7 separate regions of the Homo sapiens genome follow, and all the other regions are linked to region 3. The links are contacts of gene promoters, found by promoter capture Hi-C in blood cells and fetal thymus (Javierre and others, 2016). All regions are on one chromosome and are shown on one strand. Each heading gives the region's core, a stretch centred on a gene start or on the middle of the fragment in contact. The rest is flanking DNA. Distances are from core to core; before and after follow the strand shown.

What was found. Contacts are between HindIII fragments. The CHiCAGO score rates a contact against its expected background, and 5 or more counts as called.
Region 1: a fragment that was not itself captured here is called in contact with the fragment with the promoter of RPP38 in region 3 in 1 of 17 cell types (total B cells); the score reaches 6.0 in total B cells.
Region 2: a fragment that was not itself captured here is called in contact with the fragment with the promoter of RPP38 in region 3 in 2 of 17 cell types (neutrophils and monocytes); the score reaches 6.5 in neutrophils.
Region 4: a contact is called between a fragment that was not itself captured here and the fragment with the promoter of RPP38 in region 3, in 1 of 17 cell types (neutrophils). The highest score is 5.6, in neutrophils.
Region 5: a fragment that was not itself captured here is called in contact with the fragment with the promoter of RPP38 in region 3 in 1 of 17 cell types (neutrophils); the score reaches 6.5 in neutrophils.
Region 6: a fragment that was not itself captured here is called in contact with the fragment with the promoter of RPP38 in region 3 in 8 of 17 cell types (neutrophils, monocytes, megakaryocytes and 5 more); the score reaches 9.6 in neutrophils.
Region 7: a contact is called between a fragment that was not itself captured here and the fragment with the promoter of RPP38 in region 3, in 5 of 17 cell types (total B cells, total CD4 T cells, naive B cells and 2 more). The highest score is 10.3, in total B cells.

Annotation. Positions count from the first base shown.
Region 1 is chr10:14,209,237-14,212,173 of GRCh38, forward strand. The region is part of intron 2 of FRMD4A (FERM domain containing 4A); the gene reads right to left. Among named protein-coding and RNA genes, the nearest start is that of FRMD4A, 120 kb to the right of the region's middle. The HindIII fragment of the contact is 1,220 bases long and covers 858-2,077 here.
Region 2 is chr10:14,511,564-14,514,383 of GRCh38, forward strand. No RefSeq gene overlaps it. Among named protein-coding and RNA genes, the nearest start is that of MIR1265, 76 kb to the left of the region's middle. The HindIII fragment of the contact is 1,525 bases long and covers 772-2,296 here.
Region 3 is chr10:15,095,852-15,098,622 of GRCh38, forward strand. It overlaps RPP38 (ribonuclease P/MRP subunit p38), which reads left to right and starts at 1,504. Exons shown (of 3, transcript NM_183005.5): 1 at 1,504-1,915. RPP38-DT (RPP38 divergent transcript) reads right to left here and starts at 1,468. Exons shown (of 2, transcript NR_160789.1): 1 at 1,236-1,468; 2 at 1-1,014. RefSeq lists enhancers at 1,049-1,620, 1,922-2,011, 2,072-2,211 and a silencer at 1,422-1,781. The HindIII fragment of the contact is 10,027 bases long and covers 1-2,771 here.
Region 4 is chr10:14,567,567-14,570,292 of GRCh38, forward strand. The region is part of intron 2 of FAM107B (family with sequence similarity 107 member B); the gene reads right to left. Among named protein-coding and RNA genes, the nearest start is that of MIR1265, 130 kb to the left of the region's middle. The HindIII fragment of the contact is 2,251 bases long and covers 216-2,466 here.
Region 5 is chr10:14,548,766-14,551,712 of GRCh38, forward strand. All of the region lies in intron 2 of FAM107B (family with sequence similarity 107 member B), which reads right to left. Among named protein-coding and RNA genes, the nearest start is that of MIR1265, 110 kb to the left of the region's middle. The HindIII fragment of the contact is 5,215 bases long and covers 1-2,947 here.
Region 6 is chr10:14,530,896-14,533,857 of GRCh38, forward strand. The region is part of intron 2 of FAM107B (family with sequence similarity 107 member B); the gene reads right to left. LOC124902381 (a long non-coding RNA gene) reads left to right here and starts at 1,981. Exons shown (of 3, transcript XR_007062063.1): 1 at 1,981-2,054; 2 at 2,391-2,573. The HindIII fragment of the contact is 5,949 bases long and covers 1-2,962 here.
Region 7 is chr10:14,184,346-14,187,047 of GRCh38, forward strand. The region is part of intron 2 of FRMD4A (FERM domain containing 4A); the gene reads right to left. It overlaps LOC124902378 (a long non-coding RNA gene), which reads left to right. Exons shown (of 2, transcript XR_007062060.1): 2 at 485-2,117. Among named protein-coding and RNA genes, the nearest start is that of FRMD4A-AS3, 110 kb to the left of the region's middle. RefSeq lists a silencer at 879-938 and an enhancer at 1,219-1,268. The HindIII fragment of the contact is 1,806 bases long and covers 367-2,172 here.

The DNA.
Region 1 (2,937 bases), core at 218-2,717, 890 kb before region 3:
TTGACAAAATAATTGGATTTCTGGGTGCCTCTATCCACGCTGGCATTTTAACACTCCTGTGGCAGATTGCATAGGCTCCCTCCAAAGATGTCTACCTGGTTCTTGTGAAAGTGCTGATATTTGGAAAAAGAAATCTGTACATGTAGTTAAATCCAGCACCTCAAGATGTGATCATCTTGGATTAGGGTGGGCCATAAATCCAATGACAAGAGTCCTCATAAGGAAAGTGGTGGGCATGGTGGCTCACGCCTGTAATCCCAGCACTTTGAGGTCAGGAGATCAAGACCATCCTGGCTAACATGGTGAAACCCCGTCTCTACTAAAAATACAAAAAATTAGCCGGGCATGGTGGTGGGCACCTATAGTCCCAATTACTCGGGAGGCTGAGGCAGGAGAATGGTGTGAACCCAGGAGGCGGAGCTTGCAGTGAGCTGAGATTGTGCCATTGCACTCCAGCCTGGGCGACAGAGCGAGACTGTCTCAAAAAAAAAAAAAAAAAAATAGCTGGACATGGTGGTGCATGCCTGCAGTCCCAGCTAATCCCAGGAGACTGAGGTGAGAGGACCACTTGAACCCAGGAGGTCGTGGCTGCAGTGAGCTGTGATCATGCCACTGCCCTCCAACCTGGGTGACAGAGTGAGACCCTGTCCCAAAAGAAAAGGCTCAGGAGAGACACACAGAGGAGGAAGCCATGTGAAGATGGAAGCAGAGATTGGAGTGATGAGGCCACAAGGCAAGGAGAGTGACAAAGAGAGAAGGAAGGATTCCAGGAGGAGCCAACCCTGCAGGCATCTCAATTTCATACTTCTGGACTTCAGAAAAGTGAGAGAAGAAATTTCTGTTGTTTGAAGCCACCAAGCTTGTGATACTTTGTGCCAGCCTGCTATAGCCTGAATGATTATATCTCCCCAAAATTATTCCATTGAAATCCTAACTCCCAAAGTGATGGTATTAGGAGATAAGGCCTTTGGGAAGTGATTAGTCCTCTTGTAAAATGGGCCCAAGGGAGGTCTTTTGCCCATTTCACCATGTGAGGATGGAGTGACAAGGTACCATCTATGAACCAGAAAGTGAGACCCAGGCACCAAATCTGCTGGCGCCTTGGTCTTGGACTTCCCAGCCCCAGAACTGGGAGACATTCCTGTTGTTTATAAGCTACTTAGTTTATGGTGTTTTGTTACAGCAGCCCAAACAGACTAACATGCAACAAACTAATATAACCCCTGAATTCCAGAGGTCCTGGAATGAGGTCCCTGAACACATACCCTGCAATACCCTGCCTTCTTATATTTGCTCAAACTCAACCACACAGCATGGACCTTCAGTATCATTTACTGAGCACCTAATATGTGCCAGCCAGGAGTAGGTGCTAAAGACCACAGATGGACAAGTCAGGGTCCTGGCCCCTAAGGAGTCAGTCGTAAGCATCTCCAATAGCCGCACTGTATCATGTGGGCCTTGACTGTGGATTTCCGTCTTTGTTTGTTGTTTGTTTCTTTGTTTGTTTTTGAGATGGAGTCTTGCTCTGTCACCCAGGCTGGAGTGCAGTGACACAGTCTTGGCTCACTGCAACCTCTGTCTCCAGGGTTCATGTGATTCTTCTGCCTCAGCCTACCAAGTAGCTGGGACTACAGGTGCATGCCACCATGTCCTGCTAACTTTTTGTATTTTTAGTAGAGATGGTGTTTCACCGTCTTGACCAGGCTGGTCTCGAAATCCTGACCTTCTGATCTGCCTGCCTTGGCTTCCCAAAGTGCTGGGATTACAGGTGTGAGCCACCGTGCTCAGCCAGATATTCAATTTTTAGGAAGTTTTATCTTATGGGGGAAAGAAAATGAAATTTTTAGTTTAGAAGAACTAGGTTCCTATCCCCCCATCTCACTTCCCTGGTATAACAGTACTAGTCAAATAAATTAATGTATAATGTTTGAGAATATAAACAACATTATTAGCTAATTTTTTTGAGAGCTTACACTGTATTAGCTCTATTCTAAGCATGTCAATCACTTAATCCTCTCAAAAACCCTATGTGGCAGGTACTGTCATAATCCCCAATGAACAGGTAGGAGAAAACCAAAGCTTGGAAAAGTGAGGCTGCTTGCTCAGTGTTCCTGATTCAGTGAGAGGCAGATTCTGGGTTTGAAGTCACGTGGGTCTGGTTTGAGGGCCTAAGCTTTGAATTACTGTGTTCCAAAATAGCTCCTTAAGGCACGCATCACTATTGCATGGACCAGAAGACAGAGGTTCAGGTATTTCTACAGAACTGCTATAGGAATCAAACCGTATCATGCGTGCTATCTGTCAAGAGCCAGTTCCTATTTCTCTTAAATCCCATCCTCCTTTCTCCTGCCATGATAAGATCTTTAGGGTCAAAGATTGTATTCTACTTATCTTGGGTCCTCCTCCAGCTTAGCCTGCTATCCCCATCAGAGCAAATGATAATTGTGTGTCTACCACAGGCCAGGCTGGATCGTGATGTATTTCAACGTTCCAAAGTCCTCGAAGCGTTTGAGGCTGGCAACTAACAGTTAAGTAAGAATCACAAGAATGATTCAAATTAGTGTGAAAACTGTCATGCATTATAGCACATTATAAACCCATTTCCTAATGGAAGTTGCAGAGGGGCTGCCATGAGAGAGATTTAAGTTTGAAGGGCTTAAAAGCCTGATTATCTCTCAGTGATGCCTCAGCACTGGGGAAGTGGCTGCCTGGTGTTTCTCTCTGTGATGGAGACCTGTGTGGTGTAATGAAGCAGCACAGAGCTCTGAGATGATGCCTGGGGTACAGACAGACATCCCCTGTGATCCTTCCAACAGTAAGTCTTTGTTGGGGCTGCAGAAAAAGTGTCCCAGGGTAGCTCCAAATTGCATCTCTTCTCCCAGGGAGAGGAGGTGAGCTGTGCCCTTCTACCCAGCACCACACCCCTCACCTTCCCTA
Region 2 (2,820 bases), core at 284-2,783, 580 kb before region 3:
ATTATAGAAATATTCCCTTATAATTTCTTCTAATAATTCTACAGTTTTATTTTTATGCTGAACACTAATAAACTTGGAAATGATTCTTATGTAGAGGAATATATATTTGTTTCGTTCCAGTTGCCCCAAAACTTTTCACTGAATTGTTTACCCTTTCCTAACTGATCTGAAATAAAATCCCACCTCAATCATTGTAAATTTTGACACGCAAGTCAGTCATTTTCTGGACTTTTTATGCCACTCCATTGAACAATTTGTCTTCTCTGAGACAATATTGGGCCAGTTAAATTACTGTTGCTTGAAGGTGTGTTTCGGTATCTGGTCTGGTAAATTCCCTTTCATAACTCTTATCTGTAAAGAAAATATCGCAACTAATCTTTCTAAGTGTAATGGAAATATTTCTGGTTTAATAAGATCTCATAAGAAAAATAAGGTAGAACCACATAAAGGGTTGAAATGGAAAAACAAGGATGAGTTCACATTCTTTAGCTCTGTCATTACTACAGGTGCAAGGACACTTTTGTCCACTAGCAACTCTCTTGTGCACCTCTAGTGCCAGATCATCTCTGTTTCTACTCTTCATCAAAAAAGAAACCAGGACTTCTTGAAAGGCACACAGTCCTATGTCTTGCGTCAGAAAAAAAAAAAAAAAAAAAAATTAGGATGGCCCCAAACATCCTATTGTTGTAACAAAGTAAGGATGCTGCCATAACTGTCAAAAGCAATATTTTACTTTTAAAAAAACCAAAACCCCACAAAAACAAAAGAATAAGCTTGAAGGACTTCCACCAGTCAAGCTGTAATATTCTGAGCATCCAAAAAAGGAGATGAAAATTATAAGGTGAGTCTATAAAGGGACACACATTCATAGAGACTCCAAGAGAAAAAGGAGTTGTAATACAAAATTAAGATGATTATAGGATATAGCTAAGGGACTATTCATATATGTGTGGACATTTTATATGTTGTATGAAGAATATACATTTTCATAAACCATAGACATGTGTTTGTTTCTAGCTATCCTTATAGGAATAAACAAAATCATAAGATAAACTAGAAAAACATAGTACAAACAGACAAAAGAAGCCAGGCGCAGTTGCACATACCTGTCATCCCAGCATTTTGGGAGGCTGAGGAAGGAGGATCACTTGAGGCCAGGAGTTCAAGACCAGCCTGAGCTGTAACATAGTGAGACCCTGTCTCTACAAAAAAAAATAAAAAAAAAATGAGCCAGACATGGTGGTGCATGCCTGTAGTCCCAGTTATTTGGGAGGCTGAGGTGGAAGGATTGCTTGAGCCTGGGAGGTCAAGGCTGCAGTGAGCCAAGATCGCGTCACTGCACTCCAGCCTGGATAACAGAATTCTGAGACTCTGTCTCAAAAAAACAAAATAAAATCGTCATCAGTGGTCACATATAATAAATACAAATAAAGGAGTCTACTTGATCATATGTGATCACAAATAAAAGAGGATCCAGCAGTTATGTCCAAAGATAATAAATAGCCAAATATCTCAGGGACAAGCGTTCACCACACAGACTTGATGGTTCTACTAGACAAAATCTCAAAATGATCCTAGTTACATGAGATATTCACAGGCATATGTAAGTTTTCGATTACACTAACGGACAAGATCAACAGATCATAAAAAGGCAAGACAATGAGTAGGTCAGGCTGACTATGCAAAATGAAAGCATCCACTTCTGGGAAGGACACCAAGTTTCCTAAATGAAAGAAGAAATGGCAAGATATTAAAAATTCCATGACAAAGCAAGGAAGAATTAATTTTAACGAAGGACTTTGTCCAGGGCCCATGGCCCATGACTGCAGCAGCGTGGACTGTGCTGCCAGGCCCTCCATCCTAAGAATCAGTCAAGAACCCAGATCTTGCTCCTTCAGTTAGCCTGAGGGGGGATTTCTTTCCTTTTAGTCTTGGTAAAATTACTGCAAGCCCAGAAAGGACAGTATAACAGAATATGTAGGAGAATATAAAAATAAATATGCCAGTTTTCAAAGGGAATGCTTCCAGTTTTTGCCCATTCAGTATGATATTGGCTGTGGGTTTGTCACAGATAGCTCTTATTATTTTGAAATACGTCCCATCAATACCTAATTTATTGAGAGTTTTTAGCATGAAGGGTTGTTGAATTTTGTCAAAGGCCTTTTCTGCATCTATTGCGATAATCATGTGGTTTTTGTCTTTGGTTCTGTTTATATGCTGGATTACATTTATTGATTTGCGTATATTGAACCAGCCTTGCATCCCAGGGATGAAGCCCACTTCATCATGGTGGATAAGCTTTTTGATGTGCTGCTGGATTCGGTTTGCCAGTATTTTATTGAGGATTTTTGCATCAATGTTCATCAAGGATATTGGTCTAAAATTCTCTTTTTTGGTTGTGTCTCTGCCCAGCTTTGGTATCAGGATGATGCTGGCCTCATAAAATGAGTTAGGGAGGATTCCCTCTTTTTCTATTGATTGGGATGCCCTCTCTCACCACTCCTATTCAACACAGTGTTGGAAGTTCTGGCCAGGGCAATTAGGCAGGAGAAGGAAATAAAGGGTATTCGATTAGGAAAACTGGAAGTCAAATTGTCCCTGTTTGCAGACGACATGATTATATATATAGAAAACCCCATTGTCTCAGCCCAAAATCTCCTTAAGCTGATAAGCAACTTCAGCAAAGTCTCAGGATACAAAAATCAATGTACAAAAATCACAAGCATTCTTATACACCAACAACAGACAAACAGAGAGCCAAATCATGAGTGAACTCCCATTCACAATTGCTTCAAAGAGAATAAAATACCTAGGAATCCA
Region 3 (2,771 bases), core at 254-2,753:
CTCACAAACTCACTGTCATCTCTTTTTAATCTTTCTAATTGTGATAAAAATCATACTGCACTTTACCCTGTGTAACCTCCAATGATCTTTGACCAAAAGCCAAATCTTTTTTTTGTTGTGTTTACTTATGGACAGTTAGGTTCTACATAGGTACTTAAACATGAAAATTGAAATCATAGAGGCTGGGCACAGTAGCTCATGCCTGTAATCCCAGCACTTTGGAAGGCCGAGGTGGGCGGATCACCTGAGGTCAGGAGTTCGAGACCAGCCTGACTAACATGGTGAAACACCGTCTGTACTAAAAATACAAAAATTAGCTGGGCTGGTGGCCCGTGCCTGTAACCCCAGCTACTCCGGAGGCTGAGGCAGGAGAATCACCTGAACCTGTGAGGCGCTGGCTGGAGTGAGCCAGGTTCGCGCCATTGCACTCCAGCCTGGGCAACAAGGGCAAAACTCTGTCTCAACAACAATAATAATAATAAATAAAAGAAAGAAATCACAGAAACTATACCAGAAAATAGGATACAAAACCAACAGTGAGGAGATTGAGAAAAGGAGGCAGATACGTAAAGAGGAAAAGGAAGGGGGCCCAAGTAAGGCCGGAAAAAGCGGGGAGAAGGAGGAGGCTCATTAGGTCAGAAGCAACCTGCCGTCTTCTAAGTTCTGGCCAAGGGTAGATCAACAGATCCAGATTCCTGAGCTTTAAAATGTTATTCGGCCGCTTCATCACTTGTCCCCGACTTTGCAGCGACTCCGATGGTAGCCTGAGTCTCCATTGCTTGGAGCAGCCACAGTGGACACTGGACGGGATATTCTGTGCAGCTGTTGCTGAACTCAAGGCAACTCTTACTGCCTTTCTCTTTTCGGGCTCAAGATTCCCTGCATTATTGCCCATAGGCATGTGTTTTACCCCATACTCCTTCTCCCTTTTATCTTGATTTTCGCGGTGCTGGGGAGTCTGCAGGGATTCCATGGCGACGGGCTCACTGGGACAGGGGCTGGGGTTGTGCGTCCCTGAGGCAAGGCAAATACAGAAAAGCGAATAGAGACAGAGGGCTAAGATTCCAAAGCACTGAAAGGTAGAAACTGGGTTAGAAGAGAGAGGGGAGCACAAACGCCCGGAGAGAGCGAGCCCTCGGGATACCATTGGCTATAGGCTGGCCTCCGAACAACTGGACGGTCCAAGTCCTGAGCGTCTGGTTACCCGGGCAACCGCATGGTCTCGCGATACATACCTCGCGCCTGCGCACTGCCCCTGTAGCGGGGGTGGGGGGACCCGGTCCGGAGACTCCACCCCGGGGCCTAAACTCGAGTCTAAAAGATTGGGCCTCGTTGTGTCGTTTCCGGGTCGCGCGACGCTGTGGGCCGCTTTCCCCTCTCCGGAGTGACCTAACACAGGATAACGAAACCTGCACTGCTCCGAGCGCTTCCTCCCCGGCCCGTCGCGTCTGCGAGGCGAGGCCGGGAGGCGAGGGCTCTGCGCACGCGCGGCGCAGGCGCACTGGGCGCCGGTGCTGTTGCCTTCAGGTGACCACGGATTCGCCATCGTGAGTTCCAGGTGGGCGCGCGGGGCCCACGTAGGGCAGGAGGCCAGCCCCGGGGGGATCGGGCCCGGGACTCTGCGGAATCTGGAGGCCGAAGCCCGCGCGCACGCAGGGTCTCTGCTGCTTCCCCAACGCCTGTTGCGTGGCCGCAGGACCCGCCGCCCTCCCGGTTGGGCCGCCCAGTCCCGGGCCGGGCGCGTGCACCCAGAGCTTCCGCGTTTCTAGTCCGGCTCCTCTGCTGGATTGCAGCGCCGGCTGGGCACCAGGAGTACAAAGCGAAAACCCCCGCCGGCCCTTCTGTTCTCCACGGTCTCCAAGGAGACACGGACAACAGAACAACACTTCCGTGTGCTAAATAGTAAAGCACCAAGGTACTCGATCCAGGGGCGGCGTGCAGTGGGGAGGTGAGCTTTGGGTCGGCCGTCGCCCCTCGGCTACCGGCGGGATCCAGAAACCGGGAGTCACCACCAATACCGTTCTCAACTTTACTTCCAGCTGGTCACTACTGTGTCGGGAGATTCTACCTTCTTTTCCGACTAACATGTATTTTTCTCCAGTCCTTTCTGCGGCGTCTCTAGTGCAGGCCACCGTCATTTCTAACCTGGACGACTCCAGGAGCGTCTTTGCTGCTCGGGGACTCTTCCTTTGCCCAGATCCACAAAGATCTATAACGTCTTTCTAATCACGACACCTCTGCTTTAGATGTTAAAGTTGCTTCACACTGGAACGCTTGCAAAGGTCTTCATTATCTGGTCCTTACCCACCTTTCCTAGTTTCTCACCGCTTTCTCTAGCATCTCTGCCCCAGCCACATTGAACTTATTTGAACGTGTTTTTTTTTTTTTTTTTTTTTTTGAGACATAGCAGTCGCCCAGGCTGGAGTGCAGTGGCGCGATTCCGGCTCACTGCAACCTCCGCCTGCCGGGTTCAAGCGATTCTCCTGCCTCAGCCTCCCGAGTAGCTGGGACTACAGGCGCCTGCCACCACGCCCGGCTAATTTTCGTATTTTTAGTAGAGACGGGTCACCACGTTGGTCAGGCTAGTCTCGATCTACTGACCTCAAGTGATCCGCCCGCCTGGGCTTCCCAAAGTGCTGGGATTACAGGCGTGAGCCACCTCGCCAGCCAACTTATTTCTTTTAATACTGAGATACCTTTCTTTACTCCATACTTCCTTTGGTAGGCATTGTTTAGATGTAGGTTAAGAGGTCCGGCCCGGCGCGGTGGCT
Region 4 (2,726 bases), core at 91-2,590, 530 kb before region 3:
AGAACTCAGAAGTCCAGGGACAGGCATGGGTGGGCCGCCCAATCCCCCAGGAGAGTGAAGTAAGGGATTCCAGTGCGTTGACAAGCGCATCGCTGAAATGTTGGAATTCAAAAGCAGAGGCAAAGTCCAGCAGGAGCAGAGGGGTTGGAAAGGGACCTGGAATGGGAAAAATCTGATGTTCTTATTGTAATCTGTCAGCTGAGCTGAAGGACAGAAGCTTCTGGTGAGTAGGATCTCTGGATTTCAGCTCAGAAGCGGTTCCTGGTATTAACAGTGTCTTTTTAGGGTAACCTCCTCCTCCTAGTTTGAGCACTGAAAGTCCTGCGTCCTGTGAAACTCCTTAGTCCTCAGACTGAACATCCCCATCCCAAAAAGCTCCTGCTGCCACTCCAGTCTCAGGCAAACCAGGCTGCTGGTCACTCAGCTCCGGCTGCCATGGAGTCCCCGGTGAGCTTTGACAAATACTGACCCCTGCAGCAGATGACTGTGAGCCAGGGGCCAAAACTTTCAAGGAACGAATGAGGAGCTACGACCACGAAATGCTAGCACTGAGGGTAGAGGACAGAATACGACTGAGACAAGGCTCAAAGCAGCAGCGAGGGGAAGGGTCATGACCCAAAAGTGGCCATGAGGGCAGGAACCTAAGCCCTGCCTCCAGATCCCAAGGCACATACAGGGTGGGAGAAGGTGCACTCCCATTCCCAAGGGAGCCAAGGCAGCACTGAACTCGGAGAGTGGCTCTCGGTTAGACCAGGAGGTGAAGATACTGGGGGAGGAGGAGGCTGGCTGATGATCCCAGGGTTAGACCAGGAGGTGAAGATACTGGAGGAGAAGGCTGGCTGATGATCCCAGGGTTAGACGAGGAGGTGAAGATACTCAGGTAAGAGGAGGCTGGCTGATGATCCCAGGGTTAGACCAGGAGGTGAAGATACTCAGGTAAGAGGAGGCTGGCTGATGATCTCAGGGTTAGACCAGGAGGTGAAGATACTCAGGTAAGAGGAGGCTGGCTGATGATCTCAGGGTTAGACCAGGAGGTGAAGATACTCAGGTAGGAGGAGGGTGGCTGATCTCTGGGTTAGACCAGGAGGTGAAGATACTCGGGTAGGAGAAGGGTGGCTGATCTCTGGGTTAGACCAGGAGGTGAAGATACTGGGGAAGGAGGCAGCATGGGAGCTGGCTGATCCCAAGGCAGGAGCACAGCACCTGGTGGAAGAGGCTGGAGGGGAAGGGAGAGAGGGTGGGGTGGAAGGGGGAGGCAAAGAGCAGTCCCAGGAACCTGGAAGGAGGGGGAGAGACAGGGCATGAAGGTGGGATCCTAAATCCCAGAATCGTCGGCAACATAATAAATGGCAACACCAGGAGAGCTGGCATCTGACGATGTCTGTGGGACACAGTGCATAGGTAGATTTTAACACACTGAGATTGCTATTTGGTATAATGACATGTTTATCCTGAAGAAATGAAGTTAGGAATTTTCTGAGCTACAGAATGAATTTTTTGGTTCTCATCGAAAGGTCTGTTGCTCTTGGAACTCAATTCTCAAAGGTCTGTTTCACAAATAATCATCCTCGTTCTGATGTTTATTCAAATCTTTGCCCACCCTCGAGTCTCCTTAAATTCCTCATATTCCACAAATGATGTGTGTTATCTGAATCCAGAAAACCCTCATGGGTTTGCAGATATAACTGCCAACAACTGATATAGAAATAGAGAGTGTAGAAAATATTTCTTGACAATAAAAGTCAGAAGGAAGATTCGAGTTATCCTATCCCCATGAAAGGAAGGGGAGGGTACATGTTGTGTTGTGGTGAGCTGCAGTTTGCATTGTGCACATATGTGTGTGTGTGTGCATGCATGCATGCACACATGTGTTACGTTAAGATCATAACATGTGGTGATCTAAGTCCTCCGGAAGCTAGACAGACTCAACATATTGTTCCAGCAAAAACTTTAGCATCATTTAGAAAAAAATATAGCAGAAAAAAATTCCTCAACTCAAGAACAACACAGGTACTTCTGTTCAGTGTAACCTTCCTCTCAAGTTTTGGGAAAGATGGAAATAGGCCAGGACTGGAGGGGTGGAGCCCTCACACAGTCAGCTCACAGGTCAGCAGAAGTGACAGGTACTCCAGACTTAAGACCTTGAGGGAAACCAAGGTTCCTCTGTCTCTTCTCTGAAATAATCAAGTTCTTTCTTCCCTTCTCCCTCCTCAATGCAAGGCCGTGCTTCCCCAAACAAGATCTGGGACTCTCGCGCCTACTGAGATGGACAGAGAGCTTCACAGGTGTCAACAGTTTCAAGAACCTTGGCCAGCCTCAGCCAACAGCCAACCAGGCAGGCTGGGCGAGCCCAGAGGTTCCCGGAAACCAGAAACTAGGGCAGAAACACCCAGCAACTCAGTCGCTTTTCTAAAACAGAGCTACCAATAAATATATAAATCACTGTCATGAGCCATAGAAAGGGAAAGCTTTTATAAATTAAAGCATCCAAATATTAAGCCAATATTACTTAGGATTGCATTTATCATTGCTACAGAAAAAAACTGTATGTAAATAAATGTGAATGCATACAAGGTAATTGAGTGTCCTATGTTAATATAAGGGTAGCCCATATTTTTTCTGAAATGAAACGACATTGAAAACGTACCTACCAAAAAAATGTGGTGGGTGTGTGTGTGTGTGTGTGTGTGTGTGTGTGTGTGTGATGTTTATCTAGGTCAACATTA
Region 5 (2,947 bases), core at 120-2,619, 550 kb before region 3:
GGGGATGGCAACGGCTGTCAGGTGGACAATCAACCCTCCTCTACAAGTACACATGCACACGCACACACACGCACACACACACCGACTGAATGCTGAGTCCCCCCAAAATTCCTATGTTGAAGCCCTAACCCCCAAAGTGACAGTATTTGGAGGTGGGACCTTTGAAAGGTAATTAGGTTTAGATGAGGTCATGAGGCTGCAGCCCACATGATGGGATCAGTGTCCTTATAAGAAGAGGAAAAGAGACCAGAGCTCCTTCTTTCTCAATCTCTCTCCCTGTACTCTCCAGCCTCAATGCCATGTGAGGACACAATGAGAAGACGGCTGTCTGCAAGCCAGGAACCCAATCTGCTGGCACCTTGATCTAGGACTTCTAGCCTCCACAAGTGTGAGGAAACCAACATCTATTGTTTAAGCCACCCAGTCTGTGGCATCTGTTATGGCAGCCTAAAGAGACTAAGACACATACAAGAGTCAACTGCCTTCAAAGGCAGGCCATCCTCCTGACAAGGGGCTTGCGAGGCCCCTCAGTTAACTACTCTGGATCCCAGCTCCAAGCTGAAAGGGAAACAAGAGCAATCGGAGTTTCTTAGAAGTGCTGAGTACTCGCAGCATCTATAATAAAAGCTGCAATAAGCAATAAAGATGAGAGAAGTTTAGGCCTTTTGGCCTCAGCTTTTCCATTTATGTGAAGCCTCCCTTTTAAACTAAGGGGGCTTTGGCAAAAGTTTAAATGTAAACACATTTGTAGTGAGTGTGGGTACTGGAATAAGGGAGTAAACTACACTGCCTCTGAACTTTCCCTGATTCAACTCTGCACATTAATTCAACTCCCTCTGGAGGCTTGTGGTTCCAGGACGCCAAGCCTTGCCATTTTCCCACAGGCTGCCCTGTAGAGTCACGAGTAAACAAAAGCAGGGCAACCCCAGCTCCATGAGACCGTTCATTCACCACCGACAGTGATCTCAGTCACCCCATCACAGCACACCCAAACCCAGAAACTCGAAGTGATCTCCCCACAGGACTCAGCTGAAGCCTTTCACTATCTGTATGGACAGTAACAGACACAGGAAAACTTAAAAGCTGAATGGGAAAATGACCGCATCCTGCAAGTGAGCATCCTACTTGGCAAACAAGGAACACAGAATGATGAAAGCCTAAAAACAAAGAGCTCACTGGTAAATACCCAGACATCGGGTGCCACATGTCTATAGAGCATAACAACCGTTTTTCTTACGGGAATGGAAAGGAGGCTGTTTTAGAAAATATTCAACATTTCAAAAATTCATCTAATTCTGGAGTTAAAAGAGGCCTTCGAGAAATACCACTTCATTTTAGTGATGAGGAACAGAGACATCAGTCATAATCCAGATCCTATAGAAGTGAAGTGATCCGATTTATCTTGACTCCAACAGGATGCTTTTAAGGATCATTTAGGACTACTGCAGTAATCTCATGTCTACTTTGTAAGCGTCCATCCTCAAGTCAATTCTCTGTCTGTCTCTCTCAAAACAAAGCCTTAATAGTCACTCCTTCCCCACTACACAAGTCTGTGAGAACAACCACCACCTACCACTGAGTCTGCAGCTCTAGTCCTCGGCTGTCAGGTATGAGGACTTTTGCCCCAAGAACCAATACATATCCTCCATCAAGTTACTCACTCTGGCAATTCATTGCATTGCAATCAAGTCTGTTACTACCTAATAACTCTATGGTCAAGTGATGTTTGCCCAAAGTCTCAACACACCATCGAGGGATTTAAATCCTACAGCAGCAGTATGACTCAGGGAAAGAACAGAAAAAGGTGGCGTGGCACCCCTTAAGTAAATGCTCCACCTGATACGAAGTCCACATGAAATGGAGAAATCGGCTTCTTTCCCTGAGTTACCCAAGTTGTCATGCTTTCATTTCTTTTGTTGTAACAGGATTCATTACCCAAGAACCCAGCATCCTATCAGCTTTGACTTCACTCACAGCTCTTATCACAAAGGTCAGAACTTTTTTTAACAGTACCTTTTTCAAGTTCACATAAATAGGAGCTACTGGTTACTTTAACTAAATGAAAAGGACAAGGACAAAGGACACGTTAACATACTCATAATGAAAACTTGTCTTTTACTGACAGCTGGTTATAGAGGAAATCACTCATCACTTCGAGAGGAACAATTGTAAAATAATTATGTAACAAGAAAATACAGATCATCATAGCTAACTACTTCCTTTATGCCTTAAAAAAATTAATCTGAACAGCTTAATTACAGTAGGATAGTTTTACCTCCTTAAATGGATTAAGTACTTAAAAATGTAGCACAAAGGCCATGAAAAATGAGACAATTCTTTTAAAAGTTTTCCGAGGCAACTCAGAGTTGAAAGAACAAAATCTAAAAGTCATTCTCTACATTTTGGTTTATAATTTTGTTTTGTTTTGTTTTGTTTTTTGAGATGAAGTTCGGCTCACTGCAATCTCTGCCTCCCAGTTTTAAGCGATTCTCCTGCCTCAGCCTCCTGAGTAGCTGGGACTACAGGCGCCCACCATGCCCGCCTAATTTTTGTATTTTCAGTAGAGACGGGGTTTCACCATGTTGGCCAGGCTGGTCTTAAACTCCTGACCTCAGGTGATCTGCCCGCCTTGGTCTCCCAAAGTGCTGGGATTACAGGTGTGCGCCACCTCACCCGGCCGATAATCTTACAAATGTCAAACTGAGTAAGATTCCAATTATTTGTGAGTATACTTTATTCAAGATTTTAAAATTCAGTTTATAGTAGAAAGTACATAAACACAGTGGTACATGGGACATGTTAATTAGGAAGGACACTATTTTCCTTTTTTTTTTTTTAAGGACACTATTTTCCTAATTTCATCTATGAATCTTTAGAATTGAAGACATAAACCTTATTTTCCACTTACAAAATGTATTAGCTCTGGAAAAAAAAATATCTGTATTAC
Region 6 (2,962 bases), core at 456-2,955, 560 kb before region 3:
CCACAATGGCTGCAGTTGGACACATGTGTCAGGAAAGAGGGGCCTATAAACTAAAGCTGGCCTCTTGCCTATCTTACTGGAGTTTGTTAAATATTTCACTGATGGTTATTGGTCATAAATCTGTTTACCAGATACAGAACAAAGACGGGATGGAATCAGTCACCCTCCACCAGACTCTAAGATGCCTAACCTTTCTCCTACCCACTCAGCTGCATATTTACCTTATTTATCTTATGCACAGCCTCTGTGACCACCAATCACAATCACAGGACTGAAACCGCTGCTTCACTGCCTGCTTCGCCCACCGCTGTGCCACATGTATTCCCCTGTTACAAAATACAAGGCCGAGCAAGGTGGCTCATGCCTGTAATCCCAGCACTTTGGGAGGCTGTTGTGGGAGGATCACTGAGGCCAGGAGCTCAAGACCAGCCTGGGCAACATAGCAAGACCCCATATGTTTAAAAAACATTGGAAATGCCCTGGGCATAGTGGTACATGCCTATAGTCTCAGCTACTCAGGAGGCTGAGGTGGGAGAATCACTTGAGCCCAAGAGTTGAGAGGCTGCAGTGGGCTATGATTGCACCACCGCACTCCAGCCTGGGTGACAGAGCAAGAGCAAGACCTCATATCTCTAAAAGAAAAGAAAAAAAAAAAAAAAAAAGAGGCTGGGCACAGTGGCTCATATATGTAACCCCAGCACTTTGGGAGGCTAAGGTGGCTAGATCACTTGAGGCCAGGGGTTTGAGACCAGCCTGGCCAATATGATGAAACCCTGTCTCTACTAAAAATACAAAAAATAGCCAGGCGTGGTGGCGTAGTCCCAGCTACTTAGGAGGCTGAGGCAGGAGAATCGCTTGAAGCCAGGAGGCAAGAGGTTGCAGTGAGCCGAGATCGCACCATTGCACTCAGCCTGGGAAACAGAGAGAGACTCTGTCTCAAACAAAACAAAATAGAAAAGGAAAGGGAATGAAACGTATATATATTGCGCCTCACATAACTTACTTTGGAACCCATTCTCAGTCTACACTGAGTCTGTGTTCTCAGGCTTAAGTAAGTCCTCAAACTTGGCTCCAAATAAATCTAACTGCGATTTCTCTAAGTTTTAGTGCTTGTTGTTTCACTTGTTGGTCAATAGGCACCGGACCCAGGTCCTTTACTGCTAATCCTTCAGCCTCAGCAAATCAATCTATGCTACAAACATATCAATGCTGACCCTGTGCCAGTGGAAAAGGCTTCTAGTTCTCAGCACGGTGCTCGCTGGCCTGTGACACTGCTCACTGTCTCCTTCCTTAAGCACCTTGTGGGCTTCATCCTGCTTGTATCCTTCCAGGCCTTTCCTCAAATGTCACCTTCTCAGAGAGGCCTGACCTCCTAGCTGCCCTGCTGAAAAGTATGACCCTGCCCCCAGCACCTCCCCGTGTTATGTTCTGTCCACCAAACCAAAGCAACATCTTTACAAAGTTAATGTGAAAATAAAGAGAATGAAAATCCAAAGGCTAAGTCAACTGAAAAATAATGTAGCTGCAACATTTGTTTAAATATCTTAAATATCACTCCATGATTAGGCTCAAAATTATCAAACAGTAAGGCATATATAATAAATTACACCAAACATTCCTCAGACACTAGTTGCATTGCTCTTTTAACAACAAGAATGCCTGCAACCTGAACTGAATTGAGAATTACAAACCTCGCAGAGGGTGACTCAGGGAACCCATCACAGCCAGCCTGATATCAACACACTGTCCCATGGAAAAACGTGCTCCTCGGCAAAATCCTAAATGCACTACATACACCTCTGCTCAGCCACAAGTGTCTGAAAAATCAACTGCAGTTTCCTTCTAGTTAATCATAGACCAAGAAGGCTACACACTTCCATAAAAGGCTCCGTATTTCTGCCCTTCACCATAGATAATCTCCACGATGCCAAACCCAAACAGACAACTGCCTCTGACCTTGACCTCGTTATTACATTTGGGGAGGAGCTGGAGGGAATGTGACAGAAGAGCGGGCCGTGATCAGCAGCGAGAAGAGCGCATGCAAAGGCCACAGGGTAGGAGGGTGCCTGGGGGGGATGAGGAATGGCAAAGCGCGAGGCTGGCTGCAGGGGAGGGAGGGATGGTGAGGATATAGAGCGTGGGAACTTGAACACCAGTGCTGGCATTCTGGTCTTCACCCTGAGGGCCATGGGGAGTCATTTCCAGGTTCTGAGCAGAGTAATGACGGTATCTGACTCATGAGTTAAAAGATTACTCCAGCTCCCAGGTTTAGAACGGGCTGCAGGCAGGCAGGGCGGCAGATGCAAAGGTCATCCAGGTGAGAGATGCTTTAGACTCACGCAGCAGCAGCATAGGTAGGCGGAGAGCCTGATTCAAGATGTATTTTAAAGGTAAAGTCTCTGGGACTTCCTGAAGGACTGGACACGAGGCGTGAAAAGCACTGAGGAATCAAGGATGACTTGGAGGTTTCCGGCCTGAGCAACCAGAAGGCTCAAGTTGCCATGACGGGAGGCTGAAAGAGCAAGTGGATCTAGGACGTGTCGAGTCTGAGACGTCTGATCGACATGAAAGAGGTGACATTGAGAGGGCAAGTGCAGCCAGCGCTCAAGCCTGGGTGACTCGCTCTCCTTTACCTGACTGACTCGCTCTCGTTTACCTGACTGACTGGCCCTCTGCAGTCTCAGGCTTTGCCTGCCCTCCGCTTTCCGTCCCCTCATCCTCTGTCCCGCACTCCCACTTCCCCCTCAACTAGAGACAGCATAAGATGCCCACTCAGCCTTTCCTGGACGTCAGTGTTGAGGTGCAAACATGACTTGGGCCTTGTTGCCAGGAGGGAGGTTGAGCTTCCAGTGCACAGAATGAAATGACTTTAGTTCTGAATCTAGGAAACAGGCCCTAGCTTGGGATGTTTTTCTGACTTCTCTTTAGATTTAGTTGCTTGGAAATCTTTCTTCTCACATAG
Region 7 (2,702 bases), core at 20-2,519, 910 kb before region 3:
GCTGGTCTCGAACTCCTGACCCAAAGTGCTGGGATGGATTACAGGCGTGAGCCACTGCAACTGAACCCATTTTCTATACCCAGCTTGTTGAGTAATCTCAGTTATTTATCTAGCTTCTCTTAGCCAACTTTCTATTCTATTATGTTAAAAAAAATGGAGAAATTACTACTTCTCCAATGTTAAAAAAGGTATTTTTTGTTGTTGTTCCAATTTAAGGGAATTTGTTTGCTCAACAAAGGCTGAAGTGCTTTATACAAGGCACCGTGCCCGTCTCCTGAGGAGCCTCTGAACGTTCCCAGAAGCACACGTCCAGGCCGGGCAGAGCATGGCTTCTGTTTCTACCTCTCAGTGAAATCAATCCCCCTAAGCTTTCTTTCAAAGTAGCCCAAATGTGTGGCTCATGGGCTATAAGTCAGATATGAAAGAAGAGAAGTTTGGAGAATAAAGGCGCATTTTCTTATTTATTTATTTTTTATTTTTTAAGGAAATGATAGATATCCTTACCACATCTTCGTGCATGGCCTGCCCGGATACAACTGCGTGGGTACTGCGATGGAGCACAAACAAACGCGACCGCTAAAGTCGTGTAGGGTGTTTCCCTTTCATGTCTGAATTTGTTTAGACAGTTACACAATCAGAGAGCGCGGAATGAGAGAAAACAAAACCCAGGAGAAAGGAATGCTTTGAATCTAGGTCCCTGGGCCTTGATACTTTTTCTTTGTTAAATCAACCCAAGGCCCCTCCATATGCTGATCATCTTTTGCCAATGTCTGTGTCTGAACAGGTTTTCCCAGGCATATAGCTCAGAAAGAACCTTTCATCCTCCTTTTCCTGTTATGTGTATAATGTGGTGTAGCCCAAAGCCACTGTGGGTTCTAATTTGCATGTCTATTTCAAGAAGCCCGGAAACTATTTGCATAAGACTCTTGCTTCCTGAGAGATCCCAGCAGAAGGATGTAGAGATAGAGTCTTTCATTTTTTCATTTAGTTCTAGATATCCATAGTGAGAGATCTGTGTGTCTAAACCCTAAAATCTGTAGAATGTGCATGAAAAAATCTACCACCCTAAGCGTAAGGAGAGCTAGTACAGATGAGGATGTCGTGGCAGAAATTAGTACAAAAAACATTACAACATTTTGTAATTTTTCTAACTTCAAGTATTTTTTGGAGGTTTGTTGTAGAACTATGGAAACTTGAAACATAAAGCAAGACTATTTAAAGGTTCAATCTCGTCTTGTAAGAAAGAGAAACAGGTAGAGAGACAGAAAGGGGATATATACTTCATGGTCAGAGAGCTGCAGGGGCGGTTGTTAGCTGTGCAGATGAGCAGAAGAGAGGATAGCAGCAGCTCAACAGTGGCACCTTCAGTAGTTCTAGAGAGAAGGGATGGCAACAGCAGTAGACCAGGCTAGTACCAGCCAAAGCAACAGATACGTACAATCCAGACTAGTCCTGGGCGGAATAGGGTAGACAGGGCAGGGCCCAGTGGAGACAGCCATGGCCAGGTTTCCCATAGAGTTAGAGTGAGATAAAGTGGTAACAGCAACAGGGCAGAGAGAGACTGGGCAGGAACTGCAAAGATGGCAGCTGGAGCAGAATGATGTGCATCAGGTGAGAGGAAAAGCACAAGGCCAGAGGATCAACTGTGCAGGGTCCATGGTGATGGAGCACAGCAGTGGGCAGAAGTGCGGGCTGGGACCTACCCCCGTAAAGGAGACACTGGAAACCATCGTCCAAAGAGACAAAGACACCAATGACTAACAGAATTTATTGAGCTTACAAAATCGCAGATAAAAAGAAAAAGAAAAAAAAAAAAAGACTGGCCAAAATGCTAAAACTCCCTCCTCTTATGGGATAACAAAACAGGCTACAATTGGTTGGAATCAATATGACCAACCAGAGCCTGTACAGAACCAGCCTGTGATGTCACAGTCTGAACTACCACCACACGTTTCGTACTAACGCCCCCTGAATTTGCACATGCGACCCATGAGGAGGCATGAAGAGATAACTGCTCATGCCAAGACCTTTCTAGGTTTCCCCTTTCCTTCCACCGATCACCCACTAATCCCAGAATCCACCCCGTAAACCTCTTCTAATAAAACTACTCCCTTGAAGCCAGCAGAGGGAGACAGATCTGAGCTGGACTCCTGTCTCCCTGGGAACAATAAAAGCTTTGCTTTTCTCACAAACCTGGTGTCATAGTCTTGGCACACTGGGCAGTGACCCTTTGGCTCCATGACAAACATGATGGTCTAGGGACCCTGCTTCTCTCCTGTTCAGTCTCAGGTGACCCAAGGACTAGACCATGCATCCTCTTCCTTCTTACCTATCTTCATATCCTCATGAGAGAAGGGAGGGTTATCAGCCTCTGAGGATGCAGATGTTGCGCTCAGCCCCAGGATCCCCAGGAGACTGGCAAAGAAGATCATAGCTTTGACTGTTCAGGGTGGCCTTGGACACAAGTTGTACCCTTAAGGAATACCCTTCTCTGACCAGTATGGTGGTTCATGCCTATAATCACAGCACTTTGGGAGGCCAGGGAGGGAAGACTGCTTGAGCCCAGGAGTTTTGAGACCAGCCTGGGCAACATACTGAGACCTCGTCTCTGCAAAAAAAAAAAAACATAATTAGTCAGGTGTGGCGGTGCACATTCCTAGCTACTAATCAGGTTAAGGCAAGAAGATTGCCTGAGCCCAGGA